Linked DNA regions of Homo sapiens: all the other regions are linked to region 3. Evidence: promoter capture Hi-C in 16 types of primary human blood cells and fetal thymus (Javierre and others, 2016). All regions are on one chromosome and are shown on one strand. The core of a region is centred on a gene start or on the middle of the fragment in contact, and the rest is flanking DNA. Distances in the headings are between cores, read along the strand shown.

What was found. The method cuts DNA at HindIII sites, captures the fragments that hold promoters and counts their contacts. A CHiCAGO score of 5 or more calls a contact.
Region 1: a contact is called between a fragment that was not itself captured here and the fragment with the promoter of RAB32 in region 3, in 1 of 17 cell types (M1 macrophages). The highest score is 6.3, in M1 macrophages.
Region 2: a contact is called between a fragment that was not itself captured here and the fragment with the promoter of RAB32 in region 3, in 3 of 17 cell types (endothelial precursors, M2 macrophages and monocytes). The highest score is 7.6, in endothelial precursors.
Region 4: a contact is called between a fragment that was not itself captured here and the fragment with the promoter of RAB32 in region 3, in 6 of 17 cell types (M0 macrophages, monocytes, endothelial precursors and 3 more). The highest score is 9.2, in M0 macrophages.
Region 5: a fragment that was not itself captured here is called in contact with the fragment with the promoter of RAB32 in region 3 in 6 of 17 cell types (M0 macrophages, M2 macrophages, M1 macrophages and 3 more); the score reaches 12.5 in M0 macrophages.
Region 6: a fragment that was not itself captured here is called in contact with the fragment with the promoter of RAB32 in region 3 in 1 of 17 cell types (endothelial precursors); the score reaches 7.4 in endothelial precursors.

What each region holds. Positions count from the first base shown.
Region 1 is chr6:145,889,226-145,893,207 of GRCh38, forward strand. All of the region lies in intron 28 of SHPRH (SNF2 histone linker PHD RING helicase), which reads right to left. Among named protein-coding and RNA genes, the nearest start is that of SHPRH, 73 kb to the right of the region's middle. The HindIII fragment of the contact is 2,730 bases long and covers 966-3,695 here.
Region 2 is chr6:145,908,969-145,913,207 of GRCh38, forward strand. SHPRH (SNF2 histone linker PHD RING helicase) reads right to left here. Exons shown (of 30, transcript NM_001042683.3): 25 at 1,480-1,668. Among named protein-coding and RNA genes, the nearest start is that of SHPRH, 53 kb to the right of the region's middle. The HindIII fragment of the contact is 1,302 bases long and covers 1,386-2,687 here.
Region 3 is chr6:146,542,509-146,546,358 of GRCh38, forward strand. RAB32 (RAB32, member RAS oncogene family) reads left to right here and starts at 1,325. Exons shown (of 3, transcript NM_006834.5): 1 at 1,325-1,613. The coding sequence starts at 1,364. RefSeq lists a silencer at 899-1,278. The HindIII fragment of the contact is 5,944 bases long and covers 1-2,186 here.
Region 4 is chr6:145,970,639-145,974,774 of GRCh38, forward strand. No RefSeq gene overlaps it. Among named protein-coding and RNA genes, the nearest start is that of SHPRH, 8.3 kb to the left of the region's middle. The HindIII fragment of the contact is 1,359 bases long and covers 2,033-3,391 here.
Region 5 is chr6:145,928,598-145,932,789 of GRCh38, forward strand. The region is part of intron 14 of SHPRH (SNF2 histone linker PHD RING helicase); the gene reads right to left. Among named protein-coding and RNA genes, the nearest start is that of SHPRH, 34 kb to the right of the region's middle. The HindIII fragment of the contact is 2,290 bases long and covers 358-2,647 here.
Region 6 is chr6:146,016,023-146,019,762 of GRCh38, forward strand. No RefSeq gene overlaps it. Among named protein-coding and RNA genes, the nearest start is that of GRM1, 11 kb to the right of the region's middle. The HindIII fragment of the contact is 1,877 bases long and covers 427-2,303 here.

The DNA.
Region 1 (3,982 bases), core at 1,081-3,580, 650 kb before region 3:
GGTGTAGACAAAGAACCCTCAGACCACTGGCAAGAAGTAGGTCACTAGAAATGTTATAAGTCTCACTTCAGTGATATGGTGGGGAGAAAATCAACCAGACAGGTTGACAGAGAATGGGGGATAAAAAAGTAGAGATGGAGGTAGGATGTATCAGAGTGTTTTTTTCTTTCTAAAGATGGATAATATTAAGACATATTTATGGGGTAATATATGACAGGTTGAGTATCCCTAACCAAAAACCCAAAATCCAAAACTTTTTGAGTGCCAACGTGACAAGTGGAGGATTCAACACCTGACTTCACGTGATGAGTCACAGTCAAAACACATTAAAAACGTTGTTTTGTGCACAAAATTATTTAAAATATTATATAAAATCACCTTCAGGCTATGAGTAGAATTTGTATATGAAACATAAATAAATTTCATGTTTAGACTGGGGTTTCATTCCTAAGATATCTCACTATGTATATGCAAATATTCTAAAATCTGAAAAAATCCTACAGGCAAAACACTTGAAGCATTTCAGTTAAGGGATGCTCAACCTGTACAAGGGAAATGTACACCTGTCCTTGAAAAATGAGAAAGAATGGAGTCCAGGACAAATGAATGGATGGCTTTTGAAAGAAAAGGGACACTTCTGCTGTAATAAAAGGGAAGGCATATGAGGTACTTTCCTGCTTATTACTGGATGACATATCCATGCTTCTGCCTACTACCAACCCCTTCCTCCACTTCAGTGTTTGATCCCATATCCTCTTGCCTACTCAAGGACATTGTCAAGCATTCTCCCTGTTCTCCTTCACTAGTTTTTGTTGTCTCTAATGAATCATTTTCTTACTAATTCTCCCATTTGAAAGGAAAACAAAAACCTCTCTTGATCTCATTCTCTTCCTTTTCTCTGCAGCAAAACTCCTCAAAATACTGGCCTTACCAGCCACACAGAAGCAGCAGTGCACTGTGGTTAAAGCTTGTACTGTGAAGGCAGAATGGCTGTGCCTGAAATCTGCCACTGCTTCTACTAGCTGCCTGACTATGGGCAAGTTACCTAACCTCTCTTTGTTATACAAATATTTGTTAAATAAGAAATACACAAAATCCCATTTTCTCCAAAACTAAAGTCAGGCTGTCACCTCTACCACTTAACCTGGTTTTGATCTCCATGTTGCTAAATCTAATGATCAATTCTCAATCCTTATCTTCCTTGACATTTTTCATAGCACTTGAAACAGGTGACCATAACCTCTTCTTTGAGGTACATTTTTCACTTGGTTCCTAGGACACTCCTGTCTTCTGGTTTTCTTCCTAACTCACTGTTTGATCTTTATTTGTTACCTTTGCTGCTTCCTTCTCCTCTCCTAGAACAGCTGAACTTTGGTGCCCTGGAGTTCAGTCCATGGTCCTCTATCTAAACTCTGTCTCTATCTAAACTCACTCCTAGGTAATCTCATTCAGTCTCGTGACTTAATGGACTTGTACATCTAGTTACAGAATAGAAATCTCCATTTGGATGTCTGTTCTTCCCTTACCAAATCTGCTCTACCCTGTAGACTTCTCCAGCTCAGTTGAAGGTTACTTCATCCTTCTAGTTGTCCAAGCCAAAACCCATGGTGTTATCCTTGACCCTCTCATACCCCATGTCTAGTCTGTCCAAAAGTACTATCAGTTCTATCTTCAAAATATATCCAGAACCTGACCACTCCTCATCATGTGCACTGCTACTGCCATGGTCAGGTCACCTTCAGCTCTCACCAGGATGACTGCAATAGCCTCCAAGACTCTCCCTGCTTCTACTCTTCCTTGCTCCCCTTCACTCCCACCCTATCACAGCACTCAGAATGATTCTTTTAAAACTTAAGTGAGATATGCCAAGCCTCTGTTCAAAGCCTTCCAATGGCTCCCGATTTCACACAGGGCAAAAGCACCATCCTCACAGTGGCTTCCTGGGCCCAATGTAATCCCTCTCCCCACTGAGCCCATTCACTTCAACTCCTGCTTCTCTCCCTTTTAGCAACTGTAGCTCCTTGCTATTCTTCTAACATACCACACTCCTGATTTAGGGCCTTTGCACCGAAAGCACTGTTTACTTGAACATTCTTTCACAAGATAGCTGCATGACTAACTTTCCCATTTTCCCATTTCTTTCAAGTCCTTGCTCAGACTTTCTCAATAAGGCCTTGCATGCCTTCCTGCCCAAACATTGCACTTTTACTTCCTCACCCTGCTCTACTTTTCCAGCTCCTAACATAGTCCAGATTGTACTTAGTTTATTGTTTACCACCTTTCTGTCTACCAACCCCATTACAGCTAGAATCGCACTCCATGAGGACATCTCATGTTCCTAAAACAGTGCCTGGCACACAGAAGATACTCAATAAAAATCTACCAAAAAGTATGTGAGTACTGATGCAGGCAGACTGTTCAAGTTGATGATGGAAAGATGAGGTACTTCTAATCTGATTGTATATGTTTCCCCTGTATGAGGCAAGATCGCCATGGGGAGGAAGAAGACACACTTAAGACAGACTCCTCAGAAAGTAGAAAAAAACATATTGACTTGCGAGGCATAGTAAGATTGTTGGGTAATGCTGAATGGCCTTTTGGACTCGTGGTTTTAAATATGAGACTAGTCCAGCCTATGCTTTAAAAGAACATTGGTAGGACAAAAAATCAATATTTAAAAACACAGAAGAAAACCAACAAAAAACAAGTAAGACATGACTGCATTTTAAATGCCACTTGGTGGTATGTTAGAACAAGCCCGCATTTATTACAGTTACTTTGCCCTATTTGTTAAGAGGTTTAATAAACATGTCTCTTTCCTGTTTTCAAGTAAGCCCTTTATTTTCTCTCCCCGCTACTTCTTACGGGGCAGTCTACATTTCTGAGTATGACACAGAAGACTTCATCTCCTGCCGATGATCTCTTTCTCATACTTTATACTGCAACAATTCCAAACTCCTTACAGTCCCTAGAAATGTCATGTCATTTCCCACCATTGTATTTTTGCATATATAACTCTCTTTGGCTGTGTGAATACCCTTTTCCAGCCAACTTTGAAATAATTATTCCTTCAAGACTTAACACCATAAAGTCTTTCCTGACTCTGTAGGGCCCGAGTGATCATTATCTTCTTTTGTTAACACAGTCCTTTTATTATTATACTTTTGCACATTCTACCCCAACACTTTAAGTCATGCTTCCTGTACTACACAGTGACCTCCTTGGGGAAATAAATTATGTATCATTCAATTTGAATCTTCAGTATTTAGAATAATGCCTGACATACAGTAGGTGCTCAATAAATACTGATTTAGTAAGTGCTTATTATGGATGTGTTTTTTTTTCCTTTTTTAAACATCAAAGACTTCTAACATCCAGAAGGTAATACATTTAGCAGGCCTTATCAAAGATAACTGTCTATTCTGATATATGAATAAAGGTAATACATGCCATATAATAATATTCATTATTAGGTTTGCTTTGGGCCTTAAACTGAATCTAATGATCTCTTGGAGCTGACCTAGGGGGTGTCTTTTCCTAATGTTAAGAATTTTAAAAGGAGCCATTTATTTTCAGTCATGTACAAGGTATGTCTTCTTTTAAACACGGGACTACTTTAGACAATCAAAACTCCATTCTCCTCAAAGGCATGATGGATGCCTTCAACTTTGTAGCTGTCTTAAGTATTTCTAACAAGCTTTTTTTTGGATAAAGTGATAAGGTTTTTGTGGGAGGGAAGAAAAAAATTGGGACAATTTGGGGGTTTGCTTCTTGGAGAGAAGGGAGGGTTGGAAATCTCATGCCTTTCAATTAAATAATTAAAAAGTTATAAATAAATAAGTTATAAAATAAATAATTAAAAAATGTAGTATCTAAGGAAGTAATTAAAAACAAGTACGCTATGATGAACATAAATGAAGAGTTTAAATACTGATTTGGTTTCTCAGAAAACTGAAGCAAATGTGACTGATTCTAATTTTAG
Region 2 (4,239 bases), core at 787-3,286, 630 kb before region 3:
GCTAGCCAGTTTTTCCAGCCCCATTTACCCAATAGGATCCTTTCCCCATTGTTTGTTTTTGTCGGGTCTGTCAAAGATCAGTTGTAGATGTGTGGTATTATTTCTGAGGTCTCTGTTCTGCTCCATTCGCCTATATGTCTGTTTTGGTACCATTCTGTTTTGGTTACTGTAGCCTTGTAGTATAGTTTGAAATCAGGTAGCATGATGCCTCCAGCTTTGTTCTTTTGTAGTGCTTATCACAATTATAACACATTATTTATTAACATCTGTGCTTCCTGCCCCAACTCAAACTCCTTCACCAATCTCCACAAAAGTAGTAACCATATCTGTTTTATTTATGTGTATGCTGTGTCTATGAGGCCTAGCACACTGCCTGTGTGCTAGTACGTGTCCAATATATATGTGTGGAATGAATGGATGAATGCTTATTCTAACTGTGGAATTCTGTTTATCCCAACAGACTAAAGAGCAATATAACTGATATTTTCAGGTTTTACTCAAATAACAGTGAAAAAAGAGCAATTAAAAGTTCTTTAATGCAGCTACAGTTTTCTTGGGAGAAGGGTACCCTAATAACTGCTTAACTACTGGTAGTGAATTTCAACTTGTAGCTGATTCTACTTAAAAAACACATTACTTAAAAGTGAGGAGTATCAAAAACTCAGAAGGAATTAATAAAGAATACTTCATCTTGCTTAAGAGTCAACCCCATCATTCTCTAATTCTCATTCTCTATTCCTTAAAGCCCACATTTGCTACTAAATTTAGATACCGATGTGTCCTTTGTTCAAGTTTGGTTAGAAAAAAAATATTAAAAAAGCATATTTAAGGAAAAGAAAGAGCAAAATAGTCTTGGCTTTTTATTAAATACCCCTTAAAAGCAGTAAATCCAATTACAGATCCAGTCTGGATATCACATTATAGTAATTTTCTTAAAATTCTGAATGAAGCATGGAAAAAAATTAGGAAAATAAAGCCAAAATTTGGCTTTATCCTGGAATATCAATCTATGCTGTTTAAAAAGCACATTACCCTCTTTCTTGTAGCTGTCTTCATTAGCCAATTTATTTTATCCTTCTGTTTAGTTAGACACATCCTTTTTTCCTTACATTCAGGGATGTGTAAAAGAATGAGGAAAACTCTTTCTTTAAATAAATCTCTAATGTAACCAGACCTCTGTCTACTTGTGGTGGATAGAAATATTATAGAGGATAGGAAACTGTAATTTTAAGATGTTACATTTTAGTCACAGTGTACATGACTATCGCTAACCATGTTTGAATAAGTGTTCTGTGTTCCTCCTACAATTAAAAATTACATGGTTAAGCTGAGGCTTTCAGGCAGTGTATCTACAGACAACAGTGGCGTCTACCTATTCACTGTCAAGCTTGTTCTGATGTTCATGCTTTCTTAATCAGATACTGCTTCCTATATTATATTGCCTTACCTATGCTTCTATGTGTTCCTGACCTACTTTACCTTCACAGGGATGTCCTCCTCCTGGTTTGCTTTCTCTGAGGTAAAGACATACGAGATTTCTTTGTGAGATGTGGTCTGGCGGCAGATTGCACACTTAATGGAGCTTCTGTGAGATCCCACGCTGTATTGTTCAATAATTATAGAAATGCATTCATTACAGAAACAGTGACCACAGGTCAGTACCGCCCACTAAAAAGAAAACAGAACAAGCCTTAGTGCTATCAAAGATGCCTTACAATTTATAAGCATATTAAAAAGAGATTCGCAATTTTTCCTCCTAAAGATTTCATAACATTAATATTCTTTGTCATAAAGCCAAGTTGTGCCTTCAAATTAATTTTTTATTCCAAAGTAAGTTTTCATAATCTTTAGTTCTGTTTATCCTAAAAGTGAGTATGATAGTCAGTCACCACTACTTTGTAGAAAGGTGGTGTTCTCATTTCTGTATTTGGGAAGAATGTAAATTAGTCCTTCAGCACTCTAACAACAGATATAACAGAGGGACTTAGAATATTAATTTGGAGATAATATCATACTCGATATGTTCCATTTAATTTAAAAAACAGATTTATATTTTCACACATTAAAGCACTTATATAGAAAATAATATGGGATAGTATCTCAAATTTATTTTGAAAATGGTTCTGGTTATTTAAAAAATTACAAACAAAAAGAAATTATTATTATTACTATTATTTTTTAGACATTCTTGCTCTGTCGCCCAGACTGGAGTGCAAATGATGCGGTCTTGGCTCACTGCAACCTTGCAACCTCCACCTCCAGGATTCAAGCAATTTTCCTGCCTCAGCCTCTTGAGTAGCTGGGATTACAAGCACCTGCTGCCACGACCAGCTAATTTTTGTATTTTTAGTAGAGAGGGGTTTCACCACACTGACCAGACTGGTCTCGAACTCCTGACCTCATGATCCATCCACTTCGGCCTGGGATTACAGGTGTGAGCCACCGCGCCCAGCCAAAAAGAAATGTTTAAGAAACCCCTTGTCCTATTCGGGAAAAATAAAATAATCCTCTCTGAATCTCTGCAACATACCATGGAGACTTTTGCCCTCTTTGGCAACGAGAGACGTAAGAACAATAGATTTAGTCTAGGTGTAAGTTCTAAAAGCTATGGCATCTTACAAATGTAGTTTTAACCGTTTTCATCTGGTAAAAACAATAAGAAAAACTGAGTGTCTTTTGAGTGACAAAGCTTCTAAATCCTTAAGCTATGTTTTTTTTAAGATTTGGACATGTATGGAAAGAAAGTGCGTACCTGGCCCACTTGAGATTCTTTGCTGGATCATCTAAGATGCTCTTTGGAAAAGAACTCACATTGAAAGAAGAGAAAACTGAGGTATATAAGCTTGGTTTTCAAACCACTATTTTGCCTATTAACAGCTAATACTATTCCTACTGTTCTCTAGCTGCACCTCTGCCAGAGTCCACAGGAGTTGAGACTAATGAAATTGAAGAGCTGTTTTACTAGCATTTTTGTATGACACAGAGCAGCACTATATTGTACTTTATGTACCTCTAGTGCCACTGGGGTACTCTACTGGAAAGGAGTTTTGTGACTCACTAGAGCTCAAAATGGACCAACTAAACATCAAGACAGGTCCACCTACATGTGCAATGGAGAAGAAGCAACGAGATACCTGGCACCTGACCATTAGGAGTGACAGGAAGCTGACTGACCCAAACAGAAGAGACAAATGGCAATGCCTCCAGGTGCATCAGCTGGTACATATGGGTTAACTCTGATAGATTCTAATTTAATAGCCCTAAATTAGAAGGGGGGAGAACTGGGGATCCAAAAAGGAAAAAAAAATACGGCTACTATATATTGTAAGTATGAACAGAGCTTGAAAAGTATTTTTATTACTATTATTGAAATCCAATATGGTCTTCCAAGTGCAGGAAACCTAGGTTATGCTAGAATTAAATGAACTAATGTATATGAAAGAACTTTAAAAACTGAAAATGTTTAAGACAAAATGAAATATCTGAGACAGTCCAGTTGTATAAATCTTATCAAAACTAAAAGCAAAAAATACTACTTTATGTCATGATTTCTTCCATTTTTATCACAACTTTTATCAGTTTCATCACTGACTTTTGTCAGAAGTAACCAGCATTTGTACAGTACTATTTTGCTCAGTTTCCAATGTAGTATCTCTCCCTTTAAGATGTATTAGCAAATAAAGTATTCTTGTGATCTCACCTTCTCCACCAATCTTAGAAACCAAAAGGTACTTTCTTCTTGATTATTACTGGTCAGAATATGGAATGCATATATTTACCTTTCAACTCTCAGTTCCATAGAAAAAAACAGCCAAGACTATTTCTACTTCTTCAACAGTAATAGGCTTATCTTTCAAATTTTCAAGAGCAATGAATAGTCTGATATATATATATATAGATTTATCATAGAAAGCAGAAACTTGTATTTTCATAAATTGCAGTTCTCCTAGAGGAGAATATGGTTCTACCATGTTTATAGACATTATGTATACTAATATCCACAAAGGAATATATTTAATATAGTGGTCTACCAAAATCACATCTAAATTTCCCTAGGAGAGATTAATTTGTACTCTGAAGAACAAGTATTATGAGACATTAATACTGGCAAGTAAGAACTACGATTCTATACTAATGTAATACCTTAAGTAAATCTATGTGTGTTATATTACATTTCTGTATAATTATTGAATAACTATGTTAACCTGACGAAGTCAAATTACTGGACACAACCTTGTG
Region 3 (3,850 bases), core at 75-2,574:
ATCGTTAACAGACACTTTGGTTGTTTCCAAATCTTCGCAACTGTGAATAATGCTGCATGAACTTGAGAGCGATTTCTGAGATCCTGATTTCATTTCCTTTGAGTATACACCCAGAAGAGGGATAGCTGGGTCACTGGCTTTAGCAACGATTTTTGCAATATCACACCAAAAGCCCAGGCAACCAAAGCAAACCTAGATAAATGGGACTTCATCCAACTAAAATGCTTCTGCACCGCATAGGAAATAATCAACAAAATGAAAAAACAGCCTATAGATTGGGAGAAAATATTTGTGAGCCATATATCTGATAAGGGGTTAATATCCAAAATACATTACGTTCACAGAACTCAGCCAAAATAAATAAATAAAACACCCAGTTAACTAACGGGCAAAGGATGTGAATGGACTTTTTTTTTTTTTCCAGAGGAAGTACAAATTGCCAACAGGTATAAGAAAAGGCGCTCAAAATCACTAATGAACAGGGAAAAGCCACTAGGTATCTCCTCACACCTGCTAGGATGACTGTTATAAAAAAGATAAGCGATAATAAGTGTCGGTGATGTGCGGAGCAAAGGGAACCTTGTACACTGGTGGTGGGAATGCGGACTGGAACAGCCATTATGGAAAACCCTACGGAGGTTCACTCAAAAAGTTAAAAACAGAACTACCAGCCCAGTGTTATCCGTCCTTCGTTAAGTTCAAAGTCACGGTGCCACTTCCTTTCCCATCTAAAGGGGACTGCTCGCGACCCAAGCCAAGGCCCGCAAGTGTGGCTCTCCCTGCGGGGAGAGTAGGGCAGGAGGTGGATTTCCAGGCCAGAGGCTTCCAGGCTGGGCCCGGACCCCACGCCGACCCCGGCCCCGGGGGGGGCTCAGCGACCTCGGCGCCTCCTCAGGCCCCCAGTGAACCTCCGGGGCCCATAAAGGCTCCAGGCCGGCTCCCCGGAGGCCCACCAGCGGGCGTCTGGGCCTCCCTCCGCGCCGCGACCGCCAGGAGGCGCCGCCCGGGAGAGGAAGTCCAGCTGGGCCCGGCCGGGCTTCGGAGGCGCCGCCCGGGAGAGGAAGTCCAGTTGGGCCCGGCCGGGCTTCAGAGGCGCAGGGCGGGAGCCGCCTCGCGCAGGGTCCTCCCCAAGCCGGCGCCAGGCCCTGCCCTCGTCCGGCCCTGCCCTCGTCTGGCCCCGCCCGGGCCGCGAGCACTGGCGGGTTCTGGGTCCTGTGACCGGTCAGGCGGCGTCAGCGGGCGCGGCGGAGGGCTGGCCGGCCTCGGGGGAGTTTCCGCGGCCGCCGGGGGCGCGGCGGCAGAGCGCGAGGCCGGGCAGGGGGCCAGACTCGGAGTCGAGGCGCGCCCGACAGCCGCAGCGCTCATGGCGGGCGGAGGAGCCGGGGACCCCGGCCTGGGGGCGGCCGCCGCCCCAGCGCCCGAGACCCGCGAGCACCTCTTCAAGGTGCTGGTGATCGGCGAGCTTGGCGTGGGCAAGACCAGCATCATCAAGCGCTACGTCCACCAGCTCTTCTCCCAGCACTACCGGGCCACCATCGGGGTGGACTTCGCCCTCAAGGTCCTCAACTGGGACAGCAGGACTCTGGTGCGCCTGCAGCTGTGGGACATCGCGGGTAAGCGCGGCCGCGAGTTTCCCACTCCAGAGCCCCGCCGGGCCGCCTGGCTCCTCTCTGCTTCTTTTCTTTTTCTTTTCTGCCTGAACTCGTCTGCCTGGGTACCTTTAGGAGAAGAGAGAGGCCCAATCCAAGGGCGAGATGCGATGGACGCGGTCGGCTGGACTCGGTGGGGCCCAGAGGATGGGATGGGCAGTAGGAGTTGGAGCAGGTCCTGCACGCCAGAGCTCGCTCTCCTGAAGGGAGGCGAGGAGGCCAGGGGGCCTTTTCCAGAAGTTTGAACTCTGAATAATGCAAGTATATCATACATACACCAGGACTAGTTGAGAAGGCTGCTTTGGAGCGGGCCGGCGCCTCTCAGCCTCAACTCAAGTTCAGAGGGATTGGGTGACTTAACCCGAAGCTGCACTCCTAGTTAGTGACACCACCAAGACCAAAAGCCAGGTTCCTTTCCAGATCATTTTCCACCACCCGCCTTGGCTCTGAGACTGGCCTTTGTGAGGGAAACTCCATTCCTCAAATACTTTGCTCTCATCGGAAGCCGAGGACAGACACTCCGTGAAGATTTGGGAAAGCTTTTCTGAAACCTTACACTCACCCCTTCCTCTCTTGCTAAACCAACACCTAGTCCCATCCCTGGTGCCCTCGCCCCCCCCCGCCCCCCCCCCACTCCTCAATACAGTGTTTCTCTGCCATTTGCTTTCATTTGTTCTGTTTGAGGGGGTACATTTCCCTCTGCTCTGATTTATGAACACTTGAACTTTGCCTGGTGTGGTGGTTGGGAGTGGGCGTTTTAAAGATGATGTTAACTATTGGAAAGTTCATAGAAATGGTACCAAGCCAAGTGCCAGTGGCTCACGCCTGTAATCCCAGCACTTTGGAAGGCCTAGACTGGAGGATCGCATGAGCACAGGAGTTCGAGACCAGCCTGGGCTGTTAGTGAGACCCTGTCTCTACAAAATACATACATACATATATACATACATACATACAAAAAATTAGACAAGTGTGGTCGTGCGTGCCTGTAGTCCCAGCTACTCAGGAGCCTGAGGCAGGAGGATCACTTGACCCTAGGAGAGGTCAAGGCTTCAGTGAGCTGTGTTCTCACTGCTGTACTCCAGCCTGGTCAACAGAGTGAGACCCTATCTCAGAAAAAAAAAAAAAAAGTACGAAAATTACTCTGTTCAATCATTACAGGTGTTAAGAAGCACAGTCTGCAGTACAGCATTAGAATGGGAGCTGGTTTAGGGTTAGAGGACACCTGAGGCCACCCTTCATTCTACAGTCCCTACACTGAAGCCCATGGAGGGTATAGCTACCTGGCTGGTAGCAGAGTGGTTGGGGGGATCACAGGTCTACTGTCTGTCTGCCAGGTAGTGCTCTTGTCATTTATAGCTTGTTACATAAGAAAGAGTAGTAAATAATTGTAACCTATAACTCATTCATTTAAGAGCACATTTCTGTCCCTCAGACAGGAGAATAACTGTATGCAACTCAGTTGCTCAGAAAAAAGGAGTAATCAGCCAGGGACTCAGCTTTTTGTTGTTGTTTTTTGTTACCAAAAACCAAAAGTTCGTTTGAAAAGTCATCTTTGAAGCCAGAAGTTTTTTCGAAACACTTCCTGCCGTTGCACAGAACCCTAATGAGCAGTATTTCTGCTTCTTGACAAAGTCATGGATTCTAAAGGTTGCCTTACCATGTGACGGTCATTCTCCAGGAATCTGCAGCATAGCTGAGGTTTTTCACAAAGATGGTTTTAAAACCTTGCTTACAAGGGTGATTGACCTTGCCTTACTCTTTATGTAAATTATGGCATTTTGTTATTAAACTACGATTGGGTCCCACTGCTGGTAAATCAGTATGAGTAACTAGATTTTTAAGTGTTTATAGTTAGAAACTTGAGAAAGTAAAAGCAGGAGTAAGATACAAATTTTCTTTCTGGTATCACCTCTTCTTTTTTTATTAATCACAGACCTCGAATGACAGGAAGGGGTCATATCTAGTTTTTTATCAGACTCTGATAAACATCTGCCTAGATGGGATATCCTTGTACTTTTCACTAAATCCAAAGCTTGAGTTTTGCCAGGAAGGAAAACAAAAGTTTAAGATCTCCAAAAGGGATTTCTGGATGTTAGATATTGTTTCAACAGGTATTGTTGTCCCATACAGCAAGTACAGACCAGCAATTTACAAAATTAGAGGTAAATTTATAGAAATTATTAGGCTCACATTATAAG
Region 4 (4,136 bases), core at 1,462-3,961, 570 kb before region 3:
ATGGGATGGCTGGGTCAAATGGTATTTCTAGTTCTAGATCCCTGAGGAATCGCCACACTGACTTCCACAAGGGTTGAACTAGTTTACAGTCCCACCAACAGTGTAAAAGTGTTCCTATTTCTCCACATGCTCTCCAGCACCTGTTATTTCCTGACTTTTTAATGATTGCCATTCTAACTGGTGTGAGATGGCATCTCATTGTGGTTTTCATCTGCATTTCTCTGATGGCCAGTGATGATGAGCATTTTTTCATGTGTCTTTTGGCTGCATAAATGTCTACTTTTGAGAAGTGTCTGTTCATATCCTTTGACCACTTTTTGATGGGGTTGTTTTTTTTTTTCTTGTAAATTTGTTTGAGTTCATTGTACATTCTGGATATTAGCCCTTTGTCAGATGAGTAGGTTGCAAAAATTTTCTCCCATTCTGTAGGTTGCCTGTTCACTCTGATGGTAGTTTCTTTTGCTGTGCAGAAGCTCTTTAGTTTAATTAGATCCCATTTGTCAATTTTGGCTTTTGTTGCCATCGCTTTTGGTGTTTTAGACATGAAGTCCTCGCCCATGCCTATGTCCTGAATAGTATTGCATAGGTTTTCTTCTAGGGTTTTTATGGTTTTAGGTCTAACATTTAAGTCTTTAATCCATCTTGAATTAATTTTTGTGTAAGGTGTAAGGAAGGGATCCAGTTTCAGCTTTCTACATAGGGCTAGCCAGTTTTCCCAGCACCATTTATTAAATAGGGAATCCTTTCCCCATTGCTTGTTTTTGTCAGGTTTGTCAAAGATCAGATAGTTATAGATATGCAGCATTATTTCTGAGGCCTCTGTTCTGTTCCATTGGTCTATATCTCTGTTTTTGTACCAGTACCATGCTGTTTTGGTTGCTGTAGCCTTGTAGTGTAGTTTGAAGTCAGGTAGCGTGATGCCTCCAGCTTTGTTCTTTTGGCTTAGGATTGATTTGGCGATGTGGACTCTTTTTTGGTTCCATATGAACTTTAAAGTAGTTTTTTCCAATTCTGTGAAGAAAGTCATTGGTAGCTTGATGGGGATGGCATTGAATCTATAAATTACCTTGGGCAGTATGGCCATTTTCACGATACTGATTCTTCCTACCTATGAACATGGAATGTTCTTCCATTTGTTTGTATCCTCTTTTATTTCACTGAGCAGTGGTTTGTAGTTCTCCTTGAAGAGGTCCTTCACGTCCCTTGTAAGTTGGATTCCTAGGTATTTTATTCTCTTTGAAGCAATCGTGAATTGGAGTTCACTCATGATTTGGCTCTCTGTTTGTATGTTATTGGTGTATAAGAATGCTTGTGATTTTTGCACATTGATTTTGTATCCTGAGACTTTGCTGAATTTGCCTGTCAGCTTAAGGAGATTTTGGGCTGAGACGATGGGGTTTTCTAGATATAGAATCATGTCGTCAGCAAACAGGGACAATTTGACTTCCTCTTTTCCTAATTGAATACCCTTTATTTCCTTCTCCTGCCTGATTGCCCTGGCCAGAACTTCCAACTCTACGTTGAATAGGAGTGGTGAGAGAGGGCACCCCTGTCTTGTGCCAGTTTTCAAAGGGAATGCTTCCAGTTTTTGCCCATTCAGTATGATACTGGCTGTGGGCTGGTCATAGATAACTCTTATTATTTTGAGATACGTCCCATCAATACCTAATTTATTGAGAGTTTTTAGCATGAAGAGTTGTTGAATTTTGTTAAAGGCCTTTTCTGCATCTATTGAGATAATCATGTGATTTTTGTCGTTGGTTCTGTTTATATGCTCGATTACATTTATTGATTTGCATATGTTGAACCAGCCTTGCATCCCAGGGATGAAGCCCATGTGATCATGGTGGATAAGCTTTTTGATGTGCTGCCCGATTCAGTTTGCCAGTATTTTATTGAGGATATTTGCATCGATGTTCAACAGGGATATTGGTCTAAAATTCTCTTTTTTTGTTGTGTCTCTGCCAGAAATCTTACTCATAATAATCTTAACATAAAATGATGCTTGCCAGAAAATGAAGAACCTTTCCAAAGCTTCCGTCCACTAGCAGGGCAGCGCCATGCTCTGACTTCCACATTTGTGTGTTGTTTAGGTCACCTTGGGACAATGACAAAATTAGATCTGAATTCCATTTCCTTTAAGCCCTGTTAAATTTCTGAACTCCTCATTAGGCCTTTAAATAAATTTAAATTCTTAAATATTTTTAAATACCACACAATAATAGTATATAATTACTAATTATGTTATTTTGTCTGTTTGTTCATTTGTTTTTTAGGATGGGGTCTCACTCTGTCTCCCAGGCTGGAGTGCAGTGGCGCAATCTCAGGTCACAGCAACCTCCGCCCCCTGGTTTCAAGCGATTCTCTTGCCTCAGCCTCCTGAATAGCTGGGCTTGCAGGTGCGTACCACCACACCTGGCTAATTTTTATATCTTTTAGCAGAGACAGGGTTTTGCTATGTTGGCCAGGCTGGTCTCGAACTCCCAACCTCAAGTGATCTGCCTGCCTGGGCCTCCCAAAGTGCTGGGATTATAGGCGTGAGCCACTGCACCCGGCCTAATTATGTTCTTATGCCATAACACCCCCATGTTGACTATGAGCTCCTGGGAGTTCATTTTTAAAAAATTAACCAAACCATCCAACCATCTCAGGTAACTCCAGTGAAACCAATACAGAGACAGATGTTTGGGAACCACTTGAGCAGATAATCTCCAGCTTATGAACTAATTGATTCCTGGTTGGCTAAAAAACTGAGCTTATGTAAATCAAACCCTTATTTCTTGTAGCCACAGTGTTATAAACTGGGACTTCATTCCTGGAAATCTGTTTCATACCTTTAACATACCAAAAGTGTCATGAAAATAAATAGAAAAAAACCTCCACAAATACAGGTGTTAACAACCGTATCTTAAGTACATGAAACAAAACTCCTAATTGGAAAATATATCCTAAATAATGTTTTGAGAAAATTTTCAGCATTGATTAAAATGCCTGAAGTGTCTTAAAACATGATTTCAAAGAAGTTGGGACTGAAGATGCCTTTTTTGAAAAATAAATATTTCAGAAATGAGTATTTTTAGATATTCTTCATGTTCCCAAATACTATTGAATTACCTTAAAATTTGGAGACCTCTGAATTACTCAGCCTTTTGAGTAATTGTTATTTTAATGAAGTCTTCTCTAGCTATATAATATGGTTCTCTATTTTTTGACAGTACTGATTTTTTGAAATGATATTTCTCTTGTCCAGAAGGAGAAGAATGTAGCTAAGAAGACAAATTAAAATGTAATTGTCCAATGGGTTCAAACAGAATGAATTGACAAGGAAAACAATTCACCAGTTGTGTTGTGCTGATGGGAATCACTTTTCTGGATGGGTCAGACAACGTAAAGCTTTCTAATTTTCCCAAATGATAATAAAGAGATTTGGGTGCCTCAATTATTTCCCTCCTTTCCTGTGGGGTACTGTAAATATAATAGTTGTGAGTTCATGAAGTAAAGGTGAGTTGCAGAAGTACAGACCAAAGGAGTTTCCTTTGGATTCACATCATTTAGGGCTCTTTTTTTTCGCTTACAAATAGAAAAAGCATACAGAGGCCGGGTGCAGTGGCTCACGCTTGTAATCCCAGCACTTTGGGAGGCTGAGGAAGGCAGATCATGAGCTCAGGAGTTTGAGACCAGCCTAGCCAATATGGTGAAACCCTGTCTCTACTAAAAATACAAAAAAACCTAGCTGGGCATGGTGGTGCGCACCTGTAGTCCCAGCTACTCGGGAGGCTGAGGCAGGAGAATCACTTGAACCCAGGAGGTGGAGGTTGCAGTGAGCCGAGATTGGGCCACTGCACTCCAGCCTGGACAATAGAGGGAGACTCCGTCTCAAAAAAAAAAAAAAAAAAAAAAAGAAAGAAAGAAAGAAAAAGAAAAAGGATACAGAATCAGACCCTTGTCCAAGACACTGAAATTTAATGGGGAAAATCATAAAGACAAATTTTATCACAGTGGTTATATATTCTGCAATACATGGGGTGAGTATTGAGTATTTCCTAGCCAAGGGCATAGTTCTCAAATTTCTAGTAGAATGAATCAGACTCTGCAGACAGGTTAAAAATCTTTGTCCCAACACTTACTAGCTGCAT
Region 5 (4,192 bases), core at 253-2,752, 610 kb before region 3:
GTTTACATACATATCTTGATTTTGGTAAAATATACATAAAATTTACCATCTCAGCCCTTTTTAAGTGTGTAGTTCAGTGGCATTATGTATATTCAGTGTTGTGCAAAACACCTAATTTAAAATAAATTTTGCAACAATAGCTCTTATACCATTGCTTTATATCTAGTTCTATTAGTTAGCTAATACAAAGCTTTCTAAAACACACATTATCAAAGAACTGTAGTCAGCCAATTTCTATTCCCTTTAAATAAGGGAGAAGATTATTTTCACAATAATAAAGTTACTTTATAACGTAGGCATTAACATTCAATTATCTTCACAGTGAGTTCTCTTTTTTTAGTTAAGAGTCTTGATTAAAGCTTTTCAAAGGACATTATGAATTCTATCAGTATTTATACTACCATTTGTAGAGAATAATTCAATTAACAATTTTCTCTTCATAATTACCATACCTTTTAAAGAAGGTATAGTGATTAAACTATAATGTAAAGCAGCTGAATTTTATCTATTCGTTATAATACCTGGTTTTGCATGTTTATTTTTAAAAAGACATGCTTTCTGAGGAAGATTAAAAAAAAACCCATATTCAATGTTATAAAGGTTTAAGTCAAATTTGGAAATACCCATTCTCAGCCACTTGATGGCGCTAACATTTCTAAGAAAACTGGTGGATTTGATATTGTCAAGCTAATTTTCTCCGAAAATCATCTGCAGAAAACACAATGTTCAAAATTGGAATAATAAAATGTGTTTAATACCAGTCAAGGAGAATCTCAGAATATGTATTAATGTATCATACGTATTTATTTACATATAATATAAGCAAATCTTTTTAGAGTTTGAAATTAATTTTAGATTTCTTTTAAAAGTCAGACCTTCACTGTCTGATCTTCACATTAGAAGAATCTAATTTATGTAAGTTATATATGTAATGTTACTTTAAAAAATGAATATTGTTTAACACATTACTATGAAGTTAATAAAAACTAAAAGCAGCAAATCTATTACAATTAAGTTGAAAATTACAATTCAGAAGGAACATATCCTCTATTAATGGACTTTCTGGTGGCGGATTTCTCTTAATAATCAACAATACACTGCTAGCTAAATTGAGGACTTTCTAGGGAATGCCCTAGAGGGAAGATTTGCACACAAAGTTACGTGTACTATATGTGAACAATTTAACACGAATATATAATAATAGGCCCTTTTCTATTAGATATTGATAACAGAATTTACATTGTGAGCAGGTTGAAAGTGGTAAGAATCTGAGGTAACCTTCATATTACCATAACCAATAACATCATTCTTCATCTCTGTTTTTATAACGTTTTCAATGTGCTTCTACATTTTGTATTAAGAACAATAGTTGAGGTAAGTAAAGCACCTGTAATATTTTATTGACAAAGACACTGAAGTTCGGAAATCTTGAACAATATATACCATTTCACAGGGTTCCAACTGCAGCATGTAAGTAGGCCCACCCTATTCAGTTCTTGTCTAGAGCTATTTCTGCTCAGCTTCTGAGAATCCTTATAACTCTACCCAAGTATCTAGCACAATAAGAGACACTTTCCATTTCTGGTTCTATTATGCTAAAGAGCTAACAACTACAGACGGGCTACTCAAAGAGGCTTAATGTAAGAAGATTTATATTCTACAAAAAGCACACATTTCTTTGGGCAACTGATTTCTTTGTACTTCATTTGCTCTTTTTTTTTAAATTTCTTAAGGTAGCAGCTGAAGTCTCCGATATGAAACTTTTTTCTTTTCTAGTACATGTTTAATGCTATGAATTTCTTTTTAATAACTGATTTGCTGCATCCCACAAATTTTGATATTTCATTTTTATTCACTTCAAAGTATCTCCTACTTTCCCTTTTATTTTTTAACCCAAAGGTTTAGAAGTGTGTTATTTAATTCACAGCATTTGCGGACTTTCCAGTTTTCCTTCTGTTATTGGTATCTACCACTGTGGGCATAGAACACACTCTGTAAGCATGAATCCTTTGAAATTTACTGCCTTGTTTTACAGCCCAGAATATGCCCTATCTTCATATACATTTAATGTGTACTTGAAAACAATGTATATTCCTCTTTGGTTGGGTAGTCAATAAACACTGATTAGGTCAACTGGTTGACAGCGGTGTTTGAACTATGTATGCCCTCACTTATTTTTTACTTATTCTATACATAACTGAGAGAGGGATGTAGAAATCTCTGACAATAATTACGCACTTGTTTATTTCTCGTTATAATTCTATCAGTTTTTAGTATTTATTTTGAAACTCTTGTTTTAGGTACGTTAATATTTAGAATTTTTTTCTCTAGTGATAAAGTAACACCCTTTATCCTTGGTAATATTCTTTGCTCTGAAATCTACTTTATAAGTTCCAGTGGTACAATCAGTTAGCAGGCAGTATTAATAAGAAATCTGTTTTACTTGATAGAAATATAGTGGCTTTATCGTTCTTTTGATTAGTGTTAACATATCTTTTTTCATCCTCTTACATTTGCATCTTTAAATATAAAGTAGGTTTCTTATAGAGAACATATTGATGGTTATTGTTTGTTTTTAATCCAGTCTGACAATCCAGGCCTCTTAATTGGGATATTTAGACCATTTCAGTTTACGTGATCACTGATAAGCTTGTTTTTAAATCTACCATCTTGCTGTTTGTTTTCTAATCATCTCATTTGTTTTTTGCACCCTTTTTTCTTTTTTTTGAAGATTTTTAATTTATTATTTATTTATTTACTTATTATTATTTTTGAGATGGAGTCCTGCTCTGTAGCCCAGTCTGGGGTGCAGTGGTGCAATCTCAGCTCACTGCAACCTCCGCCTCCGGGGTTCAAGTGATTCTCCTGTCTCAGCCTCCCAAGTAGCTGGGACTACAGGCGCATGCCACCACACCCAGCTAGTAGAGACGGGGTTTCACCATGTTGGCCAGGATGGTCTCCATCTCCTAACCTTGTGATCTGCCTGCCTCGGCTTCCCAAAGTACTGGGATTACAGGCACAAGCCACCGTGCCTGGCCTGATTTTTTATTTTTTCTTTTTATCTATTCTTTTGGATTATTACCTCTAACTCCTTGTTGTATGTTGAAGTGGTGGCTGTAGGGTGCACATTCTTTGCCTTGTCACACACAGTCTACCTTCATATAATATTATACCTCTTCATATATAGGATAATAATCTTACAATATTATACATCCACGTCTCCCCACACAGACTTTGTATCATTGCTTTTACACATTGTACATTTACATGATATAAAACCCACAATATATTTCTTTTTTTTTTTTTTCCTTTGGGGACTCCAATACATTTATATTAGGCCATGTGAAGTTGTCCACAACCTCACTGAGGCTCTTTTCAAAATTTTCAGTCTTCTTCGTTTTTCATGTTGGAGAGTTTCTATTGCTATTCTATACTTTGACTTTATTGATTTTTTTCTTAGGCGGTGTCTAATCTTCTATTTATTAAGTGAATTTTCTATATTAGACATTGAAATTTTGATTTCCAGAAGTTTGATTGCATGTTTTCAAGGTTTCTACTTAACATGTTTCATCTTCACTCTTGAATCTATGGAATACAGTTTTAATGTTTCTCATATTTATATGGAAAGGTGTGTCTATATGGTGCTTATTAAAAGTGCCAGTTATATAACTTTGCTTCCAGCCAAGATAGAGTAACAGACAATGGATTTACTCTTCCCTGCAAAAACTACAATAACAGGCAAAATATACAAAATGACAGTTTGTAAGATATTAGACCTAATGCAAAAAAAGTGATCCGTGAGAGATGGAGAAGCCACTAATACTCTTCCATGTAAATATAAGATGCTCTTTCTAACCTGCTTTAATTTTGTGCATAATATATAACACTATAACTTTACACATATACGTTCTGTGTGTGTGTGTGGGAGGGTGTGTGTGTACTTGTCACCCTCTGTAAGAATTTAAGGTCTGCAAGATCAGAGTTACTTTATTTACCATATCATCGTTACCTAGATCAGATGTGGCACACAAATATTTGCTGAAAAAATGATCCCACAAACTATTATTTTTAAACCAATGAACAATAATTCCTTTAATGTGTCAAAATTTAACCATTTTTCTATTTCTAATCATTTTGACTGTTTACAGTTGTTTACTATTAAACTATTAAAGTCTAAGATTAACAACTTCAA
Region 6 (3,740 bases), core at 115-2,614, 530 kb before region 3:
ACACGTACTGAATTTGACATCTACTAATCAGAAGACAAAAGAAGTCTGAATTTACCTTGTAATCCCTGGGCCACAGAAGAATACTGTCAGGACTATTTTAAAGTCTTTCTCCAAGCTGTGTTGTGGACTAAATTTACCTTCCCTTCTATCCTTGGGGACATTGGTCGTTCAAATCAGGGCACTTTTGAGAGTGAAAGGGAGTGCTACAAAATAAAGCCATGAATGAATCTATAAGAGGTATACACTGAATCTGTTCTGGGCAAACCAGAACATAATTCTGTCCAAAGTAGAAGCCTCTTCTGTTATTAATTATCTCCCATATTATCTTCTGAGAGCTATGAATATGAGCTACACTGGCTCAAATTCCACCCTGATCCTCTCAAACTCTTCTAAAACACATTTTAGATTATAAATCCATGATCAACAAGCTTTCTTCACTCTGTTGTAGTGGTCTCGTCCACTAAAAAGCTGATCAGACACTTCAATGATCATTTGACATTCATCTGTGATACTTACTGCAGGGTACTTTGGCTTGGCTTTTCCCTTAAGGACCCTCAGTATAAGTATAGTTTATCTTTCCTTTGGACCCATCAGATTATCCAGAGAAGCATCTTCTAACTGCCTTCACAGAAGGTATTAATGTAGTTGCTAATTCTCACTAAGATGAATAGGGGAAGAGGGCAGAGAAGTGGATGTAATCATTAGTATTTGAGCATTCATTTAATCTCCTTGTTTTCAGTATGACACCACCACACTCAGCTGTGCCTGATGTCTCCTGTGCAGGCACTCTTTGTTTTACCCTATCCAGAGAAGAGATTTCTACTCCTGGGAGTAGGAGAGTTACTTGGCTATATGGAGTCAGTGAGGCAATCTGAGGATCTATTTGTTTTTCAAACTTCCAACCAATTCTCTTATTTTTGCCTTCATCCTGACCTCTACTTTTAGAGGTAGCTGATGCTACCAATTTCTTTTATCTTTTTGAGATGAAGTCTCATTCTGTCACCCAGGCTGGAGTGCAGTGGCGCGATCTCGGCTCACTGTAACCTCTACCTCCCGGGTTCTAGTGATTCCCCTGCCTCAGCCTCCAGAGTAGCTGGGACTGCAGGTGCTTGCCACCATGTCCGGCTAATTTTTGTATTTTTAGTAGAGACAGGGTTTCACCACATTGGCCAGACTGGTCTCGAATTCCTCACTTGTGATCCGCCTGCCTCGGCCTCCCAAAGTGCTGGGATTACAGGCGTGAGCCACCGTGTCTGGCGCTACAAATTTCTTAATGTGGTTTCTATGATATAACTGAAATTGCTTATGAATTTTCTCACTGCCAACCTAGAATTCACCTTGCTTGAATCTTCTCAAGCAGTCACCTTTTTATCATATGTGTTTTTGGCTTACTTTTCCCCTGTTTTCTGATTTCCTTTTCTCTTTACCTTATAGATTCAAGCCTTAAAAACCTCTTCATTATCATTTTAATGACAATACAATAAATTTATTAAGGGAACAAAAGTAAATGAATATGTTTGATTTTTCTTCTTTTTCCAGATTCAAACAGCATTTTAAAATTAGATTATGTTTTACTACTTATTAGTATTTAGGAATGCAGTCAGTTTGGTATATTGGATTTATATGTAGAACCTCTGCTGAACTCTCTTGTTAATTCTAAAAATTAGTCTGTAAAGTCTCTTGGGTTATTCTGTATCCAATTCAGTATTCAACCCACCCCAGTCAGTCTTCCACTCCCAACACTTGACCAAAATTGCTCTTGCTAGGGCTACCAATTTTCCCTATTTTGCTAAATCCAGGGCATTCTTTTCTGTTGTAATTTTAATTGGTGCATTTCAGCAACATTCCATACAACTTACTCATTCCTTCTTCTTGAGGTTCCTTTTCTTCTTGACTTCTTTAGCATCTTATTCTTCCAGTTTCTTTTCTGTTTCTTTGGATGCTTGGTCCCCTTTGATGGATTCTCTTCCTTTAGCCACTTGGAGTTCCTTATTTTGTTCCTTGGCTCTGTTCTGCTATCATTGTTGTCATCACTATCACTCACAGCAACTGTCATTGACATCATTACTAATATATAATTAGCTGTCACAACTGCCACTACCCTTTCAGATTTCTAATCCTTTGAGCTTGAAAAACCAACTCTACAAATTTCCCAATTGTTCAAGCAATTGACAAATCTACAGGCATATCATGACTTGTAGGGTAGGAAAAACAAGGTTTAAGCCCAAATATGTTAATTACAATAAATGCAAAACCTCTGATAAATTCTTATATTTTAATCATCAAGAGTTATTCTAGTAATAAGCTTACTTCAAAGTTTCAGTCTGGGTTATAGGTGGCTAACTAAACTAGACAGTATGGTTTGGTTAGGTCAGACAGAATCAAAATGGATAATTCACAACTATATTAATTATACAGCATCATGTATTGATTATTAAATACTTATATGGTGAACTGGGTTGGCTGGTTTGATTATTCTAAGGCAATCTAGTAGAAATCCAACATATCTGGGTGGTTGAAAGGGTCTTATTCAAGTATAAAAAATAGCTTTATTATTAAGCCTGCAAAGCAATTATTTCATTAAAATTTGAACCTTAGTGAACTTTAGACCTTTTTCAACAAGATACTACCTTCTCTATCACCAAAGAGCATCATTGTCCTTATATAATAATAATAATAATTATATCTGCCATTTATATTGAAAATGATCAGTCTACTAAGCACTTCCATTTAATTCTCAAAATAACTCTATCAGGATAAGCATGATTATTTCCATTTTATTGAGGAAAGTGGGATTTAGAGATGCTGTCACTTTCTCATTTGTTTTCAGTATGACACCACCACACTCAGCTAAGCCTGATGTCCCCTAATAAGTTATGTTCATAATAAGTTATGGAGCTGGGATTCAAACATAGGTCTGATCTGACTGCAATCATAGATCTGGTCTGACTGCAAAGTTACTTGAAACTTTGAAGTAAGCTTATCACTGTATACATATATATATATAGTGCATATATGTGTTTGTGTGTATATGTGTGTGTGTATGTGTGTGTGTGAGCGAGAGAGAGAGAATATTTTCCACTTAATCTTTTATAGCTAAATTTTCTATTAGGGTCCCCACTTGCTTGTATTTTCCTTCTGAATTAATATCTATCATTTGATCGTAATTTTGTTTCTTGAAAATAACCTAAATTTCTTGGTAATCTTATGGGCACATGTCATAAATGATACTGACACAATTTTCTTCTTGGAATAAAATTTTTAATTTTGGGCATTTATAGAAGTATGATTCTAAATCTCAAACAATAATTACCATTTGTGTGAAGAATCATGTGCATCCATGCAACTGTGTATGTGTGTACATATGTACGTGGTTGCAGTAATTCTTGTTATAGTACACATAGTGGTAAATAAATATAAAGGCATTCAGATGTTTAAAAAGCATTGTAAGATGCATTTGCTCTGTTTCCTAATTCTCATGCCCTGCAATCTTGTTTCCAATGCTATTCCTCCTTATAAAAGTGATTTGATAATATCAGACAGGCTACATTTTGATAAATTTAATGAACTATTTTTAGTCCTTTGTGTTCCCACCTCTTCCCTCAACTCTTACACCTTAGCCACTCCCTCCTTCTTGAAGTACTCTTTCTCACTGGTTTATTGACCTAACATTTGTTAGTTTTTATCTATTTCTGTTGCTTCTCAATGAACTTTGTGGGCTCCATTTTCTCTGCTTTTAC